Regions from separate parts of the Homo sapiens genome. Here all the other regions are linked to region 2. The links are contacts of gene promoters, found by promoter capture Hi-C in blood cells and fetal thymus (Javierre and others, 2016). All regions are on one chromosome and are shown on one strand. The core of a region is centred on a gene start or on the middle of the fragment in contact, and the rest is flanking DNA. Distances in the headings are between cores, read along the strand shown. Region 1 overlaps ZNF710 (zinc finger protein 710). Region 2 holds the start of MESP2 (mesoderm posterior bHLH transcription factor 2). Region 3 has its middle 5.3 kb from the start of ZNF710.

The links. The method cuts DNA at HindIII sites, captures the fragments that hold promoters and counts their contacts. A CHiCAGO score of 5 or more calls a contact.
Region 1: a fragment that was not itself captured here is called in contact with the fragment with the promoter of MESP2 in region 2 in 1 of 17 cell types (neutrophils); the score reaches 5.1 in neutrophils.
Region 3: a contact is called between a fragment that was not itself captured here and the fragment with the promoter of MESP2 in region 2, in 1 of 17 cell types (monocytes). The highest score is 5.2, in monocytes.

The regions. Positions count from the first base shown.
Region 1 is chr15:90,020,834-90,023,685 of GRCh38, reverse strand. The region is part of intron 1 of ZNF710 (zinc finger protein 710); the gene reads right to left. Among named protein-coding and RNA genes, the nearest start is that of MIR3174, 16 kb to the right of the region's middle. The HindIII fragment of the contact is 8,896 bases long and covers 1-2,852 here.
Region 2 is chr15:89,774,889-89,777,708 of GRCh38, reverse strand. MESP2 (mesoderm posterior bHLH transcription factor 2) reads right to left here and starts at 1,377. Exons shown (of 2, transcript NM_001039958.2): 1 at 428-1,377. The coding sequence starts at 1,351. LOC124903550 (a long non-coding RNA gene) reads left to right here and starts at 1,100. Exons shown (of 2, transcript XR_007064751.1): 1 at 1,100-1,419; 2 at 2,658-2,820. RefSeq lists a silencer at 954-1,113. The HindIII fragment of the contact is 2,896 bases long and covers 1-1,619 here.
Region 3 is chr15:89,994,612-89,997,396 of GRCh38, reverse strand. No RefSeq gene overlaps it. Among named protein-coding and RNA genes, the nearest start is that of ZNF710, 5.3 kb to the left of the region's middle. The HindIII fragment of the contact is 1,433 bases long and covers 802-2,234 here.

The DNA.
Region 1 (2,852 bases), core at 157-2,656, 250 kb before region 2:
TAGAGTTGGGGTCTCACTCTGTCACCCAGGCTGGTGTGCAGTGGTGTGATCATGGTTCACTGCAGCCGTGAACTCTTGGGCTCAAGAGATCTTCCTGCCTCAGCCACCTGAGTCACAGGGATTACAGGCATGAGCCACCATGCCTGGTTCACCTGCAAGTGTGTTTATGTTCAATTTGATGCCACCTACAGGCACCAACTTCCTACCTGCTGCTCCATGCAGTGGGCTGAACCTCCAACTCAGAATGTAGCCAAGAACTTGCAGCTATCACTCTTTGGAAGAGTGCTACCCAAAGAAGGGCTGGCTTCCAGTTTGTCAGCCAGCAGAAGAACTTGTGCAAGGAGAATGGAAATGAGCTGGTGTTTTAGCTCTGATTTTTATCTAGAAGCCACCAGGCTGTCCAGTGGCTCACCTACCTCTGTAGCTCCTGCTTTACTTTTCTGGTAGGTCTTAGGAGCTGGGTGGCAGAGTGGTTCAATGGATGGAGTGTGAGCTTTGGACTCATCGCATCTGGGTTCAAATCCCACTACCACTCCTTATAGGTGCGAGGCCTTGGGAAAGCAGCCACCTTCATAAGCCTCAGTTTCCCTGTCCGTAAAATGGGGAGAGGAATGCTATTTCTCAGTGGGTCACTGAATTCAAAGAATCTAGATCAGTGTCCGGCCTATAGCAGCTACTTGACAGACATTAATTCTCCTTCTCTTCCCCTTGCCAGGACTGGGGAAAACCCTACCTGAAGATGTCATGTACTCCCGCAACATTTCAAAAGAGCTTTCTACATTCTCAAATGGATTCAGTAACTATAAATATGTATTAAGAACATGCCCCAGTGGAAAAATTTTACTTGGGGTTACTTCTCAGTGAGTTTTAAGAAACACAATCAAGCCCATTAATGTACTTTTGTAAATTATATGTAAACAGCTGGTGCAAAGCAGAAATTCTAGGCGAAATGAAAAGGAATTCAAGTAAAAGTGCCATATGTATTCCTCTGAGGGGTTTCTCGTCTCTCAGGTCAACATTTCCAAAGGGATTTCCCCATAGGGATTTAACAACACAAGCCCCAAGTCTCCCGGCTTATGCCAGAGTGATCCGCCATAGTGTTTCTTTGCTCAGAACCCACTAGTGGCCTCCCAGGCCTCAGGATGAAGCCCGAGCCTTTTGACACATTCTCAGTTGGTCCCTACCTATACCTGCAGCCTCATCTTCTACCATCTCACCCACAATCCCCCTCGGACTCCTCAAGTGTGTCCCTTGCTGCCTTTGCATGTTTGAGTCCCCCATGCCTCCTTTTTGTTTTGTTTTGTTTTTTTGAGACAGAGTCTCACTCTGTCCCCCAGGCTGGAGTGCAGTGGCGCAATCTCGGCTCACTGCAACCTCTGCCTCCCAGGTTCAAGCGATTCTCCTGCCTCAGCCTCCTGAGTAGCTGGGATTACAGGCATGCACCACCACACCCGGCTAATTTTTGTATTTTTAGTAGAGATGGGGTTTCACTATATTGGTCAGGCTGGTCTTGAACTCCTGACCTCGTGATTCGCTCGCCTCGGCCACCCAAAGTTCTGGGATTACAGGCGTGAGCCACTGTACCCAGCCTTGTTTTGTTTTTTGAGACAGAGTCTCGCTCTGTAACCCAGCCTGAAGTACAGTGGCTGGATCTCAGCTCACTGCAACCTCTGCCTCCCTGGTTCAAGCGATTCTCCTGCCTCAGCCTCCCAAGTAGCTGGGACTTACAGGCATGCGCCACCATGCCCGGCTAATTTTTGTATTTTTAGTAGAGACGGGTTTTGCTATGTTCACCTGGTCTTGAACTTCTGACCTCAGGTGATCCGCCTGCCTCAGCCTCCCAAAGTGCTGGGATTACAGGTGTGAGCCACCACGCCTGGTCCCCCATGCCGCCTTTGTCTGCTAGGACTCAGCTAGACACCACCTCCACCAAGCAGTCTTCCCTACAGCCCCCTGCCCCCAGCACATTCGAAGAGCTAACTTCCTGTGCTTTTGTGTCTATATCCAATATCTAGTACCCCTTCTGGACTGGGGGCTCACTGGGGAGAGAGACCATGCCATTCACCTTAATATGACAGAGTTTAACACATGGTAGGTAGTTGGTAAATGTTTGCTGATTGAATGAAGGAAGTAAGAGAGAACAAAGGGCGATTTTTCAGAGAACAGAGGATTCAGGATGGTGCAGGCCTGTCTCCTGACTTCATAGCACCGCGGTCCGCAGGTAATAGTGATAGCCATGGGTTATATACAAACACACAGTGTAGCTATGAAAAGTAGGCTCATGAACCCATTTTACAGGCTGTGAAACCAAGGCTTGGGGAGGCTGTGGGTCATCAGGGCTAGGAGATGGTGAGCCGAGGCTGAAAGCTGTAGGTCCTCTAATCCTGAGTCCTGTGACTTAAGGATGAGGTCCTCCCCTTGCCTCTGAGCCGCTTCAGCGGGGCTCTTTCAGGTCTGCACCTGCCTGTGGGGAAAAGAGCAGCTCTGTGTTTCTGTGTCTAATGCAGTTTCCATCCAACAAAGGACGCAGTTGAGAGAGCTCCCCAAGGCTAAGGCGGGTCCAGGTCAGAAGTCTGAACACACACTGGAGAAACGTTTGACTCCATAGCAAGGAACCCAGGGCTGAAACCCTCACCCTTGGAGCTGACGTCCCCCAGGCTGCTAAGGGGGGGGGGGTGCCACACCCTCTCTCACAGGACTCCAAAGTTGCCCACTACTCATGCCCTTGGTGGGTCCAACACTATCACAAATGGACCCCTGCTTTCCCCAAATCTTAATTGATTAAAGAAGCAAAGTGACAAGTTTCATCTGAATCTAAGGTTGCAGAATGAGATCTGTAACACTGTCACAAG
Region 2 (2,820 bases), core at 128-2,627:
TGGTTAATATGATTTTTTATGGACGATGAGTCATTCATGAGCCTCATGAATGAACGAATCTTGAAGAAAACTTGAAATCACCAGCTCTAGGCCCATCTACTCAGGAAATGCTGCCCTTACCCTGGGACTTCCTTCCCCCACTGCAGTCTTAATAGCACTTGAAGCCAGCACGCCCACCCTGCTACTTTCCACCCTCTGAGAAAGTCGGCGGGCTCCCCCTCTTTCCCATGGCTGTGAAGACTGCTTGTGGTGACTGTGGAGATGGCCTTAACTTCCCAGGGTCCCATCTCTTCTCCCACGGAGCCGGGGGTTCCTTCCATTCTCCCCTCCGTTAGATAATCCTGGAGTAGATAAGCTGGGATCGAAAAAGTACGAGATTCTCTGCAGACTGGAGGCTGGGGAACACAGCAAGGGCCTCCACACATACCTGGTACACTGCGGCCAGCTCCAAAGTTGCTGGGGCCGCCGTCCAGGGCACTGGTGGGTTCCGGGGCTCTGGGGACGACTGCGTCCAGGGACAGCCTTGGGGTGGCGTCCAAAGAGACGCGTCGGAGGTTGTCCCTTGGGACGAATACGGGGGCGACTGTATCTTGGGGCAGTAAGGGGGTGTTGCCCAGGGATCCGTGTCGTGGACCCCCCTCCCCAGGCGCTCGGGTGCGGCTTGGGCTCCGGGGCAGGCGGACGGGGATCCCCAGGACGCCTCGGCGAGGACGGCGGAGACCAGGCCCGGCCTGCGCCCCTGCCCTTGCCCCTGTCCTTGCCCCTGTCCTTGCCCCTGCCCTTGCCCCTGCCCCTGCCCCTGCCCTTGCCCCTGCCCCTCCGCCTGCGTCTGCGCCTCTGCGGGGCCACGGTCGGGGCACAGCGGGCAGCCCCAAGGGGACCCCGCGTCCCCGCGCTGCCTGCGCCGGCACTGCAGACTCTCCTCGCTGAGACCCAGCACGGCCGATAGGTGGCCGATGTAGCGGATGGCCAGGCGCAGCGTCTCGATCTTGGTCAGGCTCTGGCCGGCCGGCGCCAAGGAGGGAGGCAGAAAGCGGCGCAACTCGTGCAGGGCGCGGGCCAGCGTGCGCATGCGCAGTTTCTCCCGCTCGCTGGCGCTCTGCCGCTGTCCGCCCGCTGGTCCGGTGCGCGCTCGTCTGGGCGTCGTCGCGGCTGCCTCTGCGGCTCGGGAGCTGCAGCTCGGAGGCTGTGGCTGCGGGAGTCCGCGGGCGCCGTCGCAGGGGCACGAACCCGACGAATCGGAGGAGGAGGCCGGGGACGTGGAGTCCCAGTGGCCGGCCCAGCCCCAGCCCTGGGCGAAGATCCAGTGGTCGTGGCCGAGGAGGCTCTGCGGAGGAGGCGACTGGGCCATGGCCGGGCTGCAGGCTCTGGGAGGCTGGGTTGGCCACCTCCAGGCCTGAGCTTTTATGTTGACCAAAGGTGCGAGGTGGCCCCCCGCCAGGTTGCAGAGAGGTGTCAAAACCCACAGAGCCCAGGGAAAGTCTGGGCAGGGGGCCCCTGGGAAAGCGGGCCCATTTGCGGAGGTGTGGATTCTGACTCCTTGGGGGCTCTAAATGGAGGCCCCTGCAGCCCGGGAAGTATGGGAGGGACAATTCGCATCTGGATGGAGCTGCTAAGCTTCTCACCACGCTCCCACCCACGCCCCTGCCCCGTCCACTGCTCACGGTGAGTGCCCGGGAGCCCAACAGAGGCGGGTAGTGCCATGGTCTGTGGGTGCCTCAGGGACCCCGTGAGGAGTGGGTGCCTCTCTCATCACTAACCTCCCGGAGGTCTGTGCCCAGGACGCTGTGCCTACTGTTGTATTAAATAAGGCATCAAGACAAGCCCGGAGGGCCCTGCCCATGGTGGCTGAGGAAGAAGTGCAGGTGGGCCCTTCTGGGGTCCCCAAAATCCACAGTTTCTGATTTGTTGAGTGACACACCAAGAAAGGCATCTCACTGCCCATGGTCTGTATCTACTCTTGAGAAATGGAATAGATTAGGTTGGGGAAGAGGAGTTGGGTACCCTAGGTGATGAAAACCGGCGAAAATGGGTCCCCAAGCCGGCCTCTTTATTGGCTGTGACCTTGGTTAAGTTATTTAGCTCCTCTGAGCCTCAGATTCCCTCATCGGTACCAATAGTGATACAAAATACCTATGCCTAGGATGGTTCCTGGACTAAGTACAGCGATCCCTGTAAAGCACTTAGGCCCTGGCAAGTGAGCTGAAGGTTTGCCATGATCGTTTTATAAAGAAGGTACTGGCCAGGCATGGTGGCTGATGCCTGTAATCCCAGCACTTTGGGAGGCCGAGGTGGATGGATCACCTGAGGTCATAAGTTCGAGACCAGCCTGGCCAACATGCTGAAACCCTGTCTCTACTAAAAATACAAAAACCAGCCGAGTGTGGTGGCAGGCACCTGTAATCCCAGCTACTCGGGAGGCTGAGGCAGGAGAATCGCTTGAACCCGGGAGGCGGAGGTTGCAGTGAGCTGAGATCGTGCCACTGCACTCCAGCCTGGGCGAGTGCGAGACTCCGTCTCAAAAATAAATAAATAAGTAAATAAATAAATAAATAAATAAAATAAAAGGAAAGTACTTAGATTTCAAGGCACTAATGGACTTTATTCATTTAATTCATATTTATTTATTTATTCTCTTTTTTTTGTTTTTGAAACAGACTTGGTCTATCGTCCAGGCTGGAGTGCAGTGGCACCATCTCAGCTCACCGCAACCTCTGCCTCCTGGGTTCAAGTGATTCTTCTGCCTCAGCCTCTCAAGTAGGTGGGACTACAGGTATGCACCATCACGTCTGGCTAATTGTTGTATTTTTAGTAGAGACT
Region 3 (2,785 bases), core at 269-2,768, 220 kb before region 2:
CACTGCAGCCTCGAACTTCTGGGCTCAAGCCATCCTCCCACCTCAACCTCCCGAGTAACTAGGGTTACATTTGTGTGCCACCATGCTCGGCTGTATTTTTTCTTTTTGTTTTTTGGTACAGACTGGGTCTTGCTATGTTGCCCAGGCTGGTCTCGAACTCCTAGGTTCAAGCAATCCTCCTGCCTCAGCCTCTCAAAGTGTGGGGATTACTGGCATAAGCCACCTCACCCAGCCCACATTGTCATTCTTAGTGAATGATATTATTCCATGGTATGTGTGTATCTTAATTTGTTTAAACAAATTGTTAGACTCATGGGATGTTTGCAGGTTTTTCGCTTTTATGAACCTGCTTTGATAAACATACCTGTACAGCCACCTTAGTGCGAGGCTGGGCTAAGCACTTTATTTGAGGTAGGTGTCATTATCATTTTACAGAGGAGGAGGCTGAGGCACCGAAAAGCTTAAAAACTTCCTAAGGTCACTACCATGGAGTGTCTGAGCCAGAATGTGTAGACAGGGTTTCCCTTTGGGAATTCTCTTTCAACATGTTTTCCCCTCTTTAGAGTCTCCTCCACTTTCCATACCAATTTCCTCTCTTACAGATTACCTCCCTGTGAGAACCTGTCTGGACAGGTGACCCACTTCCTTTTGTGACACCTTTTTAACTTAAATAATGCCCACCTTCTAGGGTTGTTGGGAGAAGTGGAAGCCGATAATATATGATGTGTAATGTATGATACTGTATTTTGTAAATTTCAAAGCCTATGTGAACGTTAGAAGGTCCCAGTGAGGCCCTAAGCTTGCAGACATCACTATTTAGCCAAATCTCCTGACTTGCCCAAACCCAGCAAGGAATCCTCCAGATTCACACCAGAAAGAAAGAAATCAGCTTTTTTGATACAAAAGCAGTAAATGGAGGTCTCCCCTGGGCATTTCAGAAGCCCCAAAGCTGCCTCCCTAGAGCTGAAATTCAAAGGTAGGTTTATAATTATAAGGTTTATTAATCCTGATTTCCCTGATAGAGGATACATTCCTGCTGCAGACCCTTCCAGGATGTTCTAGCCATCTCTGAGAATCCCAGGAATCTTGTAAGCTGAGAAAAGGGATGAAACACAGCTCTTCGACGTTTCAGTTGACATGTTCACTAGAGTAATTTGCTGGGAGATTAGCAGGTGATTATTAATATCTGCTTCTTTCATTGCCAGAACCAAACAAACATTTTAAAAGATATTATTGGCTTTGCAATATCTAATATTCAACTTTTAATATCAAGACTCCCAACAGGAATCCAGCCAATGAAAGGCGAGGACCCCAAGGTTCAACTAGACAGGCGCTGCAGAAAGCAGAGGTGGACCTAGGGCTCCTAAAAGGCTGGTCTTAGCGGAAATGGCATGGGGGTTGGGAACTGGTAGAGAGTCACTGAGAGCTAAGCTCTAAGTGCCCACAGAATATGCACTGGGCAGCAATTCAAAATCCTCAGAAGGACCGGGTGCAGTGGTTCACGCCTGTAATCCCAGCACTTTGGGAGGGTGAGGTGGGCGGATCACTTCAGGTCAGGAGTTCAAGACCAGCCTGGCCAACATGGTGAAACCCTGTCCCTACTAAAGATACAAAAATTAGCTGGGTGTGGTGGCATGCGCCTGTAGTCCCAGCTACTCGGGAGGCTGAGGCAGGAGAAATGCTTGAGCCTGGGAAACAGAGGTTGAAGTGAGCCGAGATCGCGCCACCGCACTGCAGCCTGGGTGACAAAGCAAGATCTTCTTAAAAAAAAATATTAAATTAAAATTAAAATTAAAAAATAAACAATAAAAAAAATCCTCAGAAGTATAGTAACAATTTAGGAATACTCAGGGTTTTTGGGGAAAACCCAAAGAAAGCATAAGTTTGTGTGGATAGATGGGATGAACATGTGACTTACAAATTATTAGTCCAGGAGTAATGAAAGGGTGCATGAAATAATCCACCTCCTCTGAGCTCCCCTTGTGATTGAGGGTGCACAGTTACATGGCTTTATTCCCATCATGGCTTGAACCAATTAGTTAATTAATCCTATACACATAAATTTAAGAATAGAAATATGCCAAAAGAAACATGGGTCATTACAACTGCCAGCTTCACCGAAGAGTTACAAATAAATTAAATGTAAAAGCCACAGTGATGATACTTATGGCTACAGGAGGGCAAATTGGTACAAAGCCTGGAAAATAATTGGATATGAAAGATCAAGAGAAGCTTAAAAATTTATACCCTTTGATTCAGTAACTCGAATTCTAGAAATCTGTTCTTGAGAGAAATAATCAGCAATGTGAACAAAGATGTGTTAAGCATGTTTATGAAAGTATTATTTATATTGGCAAAAGTTAAAAATAGGAAAAAAGAAGGAAAGAAAGAAGGAAATAATCTAAATATCCAAAAATGATGGAAATGTTTAAAGAAGTTATGGCATGAACATCTGATGTAATACTATATAAGCTATTAAAAATCATGTTTTTGAAGAATAATGACTTGGGAAGTGTTTGTAATATGCTGAGTGAAATATAAAATTGCATATGCATCAGAATTATATATATTTAAAATTTGGTATATACATGTATACTTATCCGGAAAAATGCATGTAAAATGCCTGGAAGAAAATATACAAGTTTTTAAAAAGTTATTTCTGGCTGGGCTCAGTGGCTTACACCTGTAATCCCAGCACTTTGGGATGCCAAGGTGGGCAGATCACGTGAGGTCAGGAGTTTGAAACCAGCCTGGCCAACATGGTGAAACCTCATCTCTACTAAAA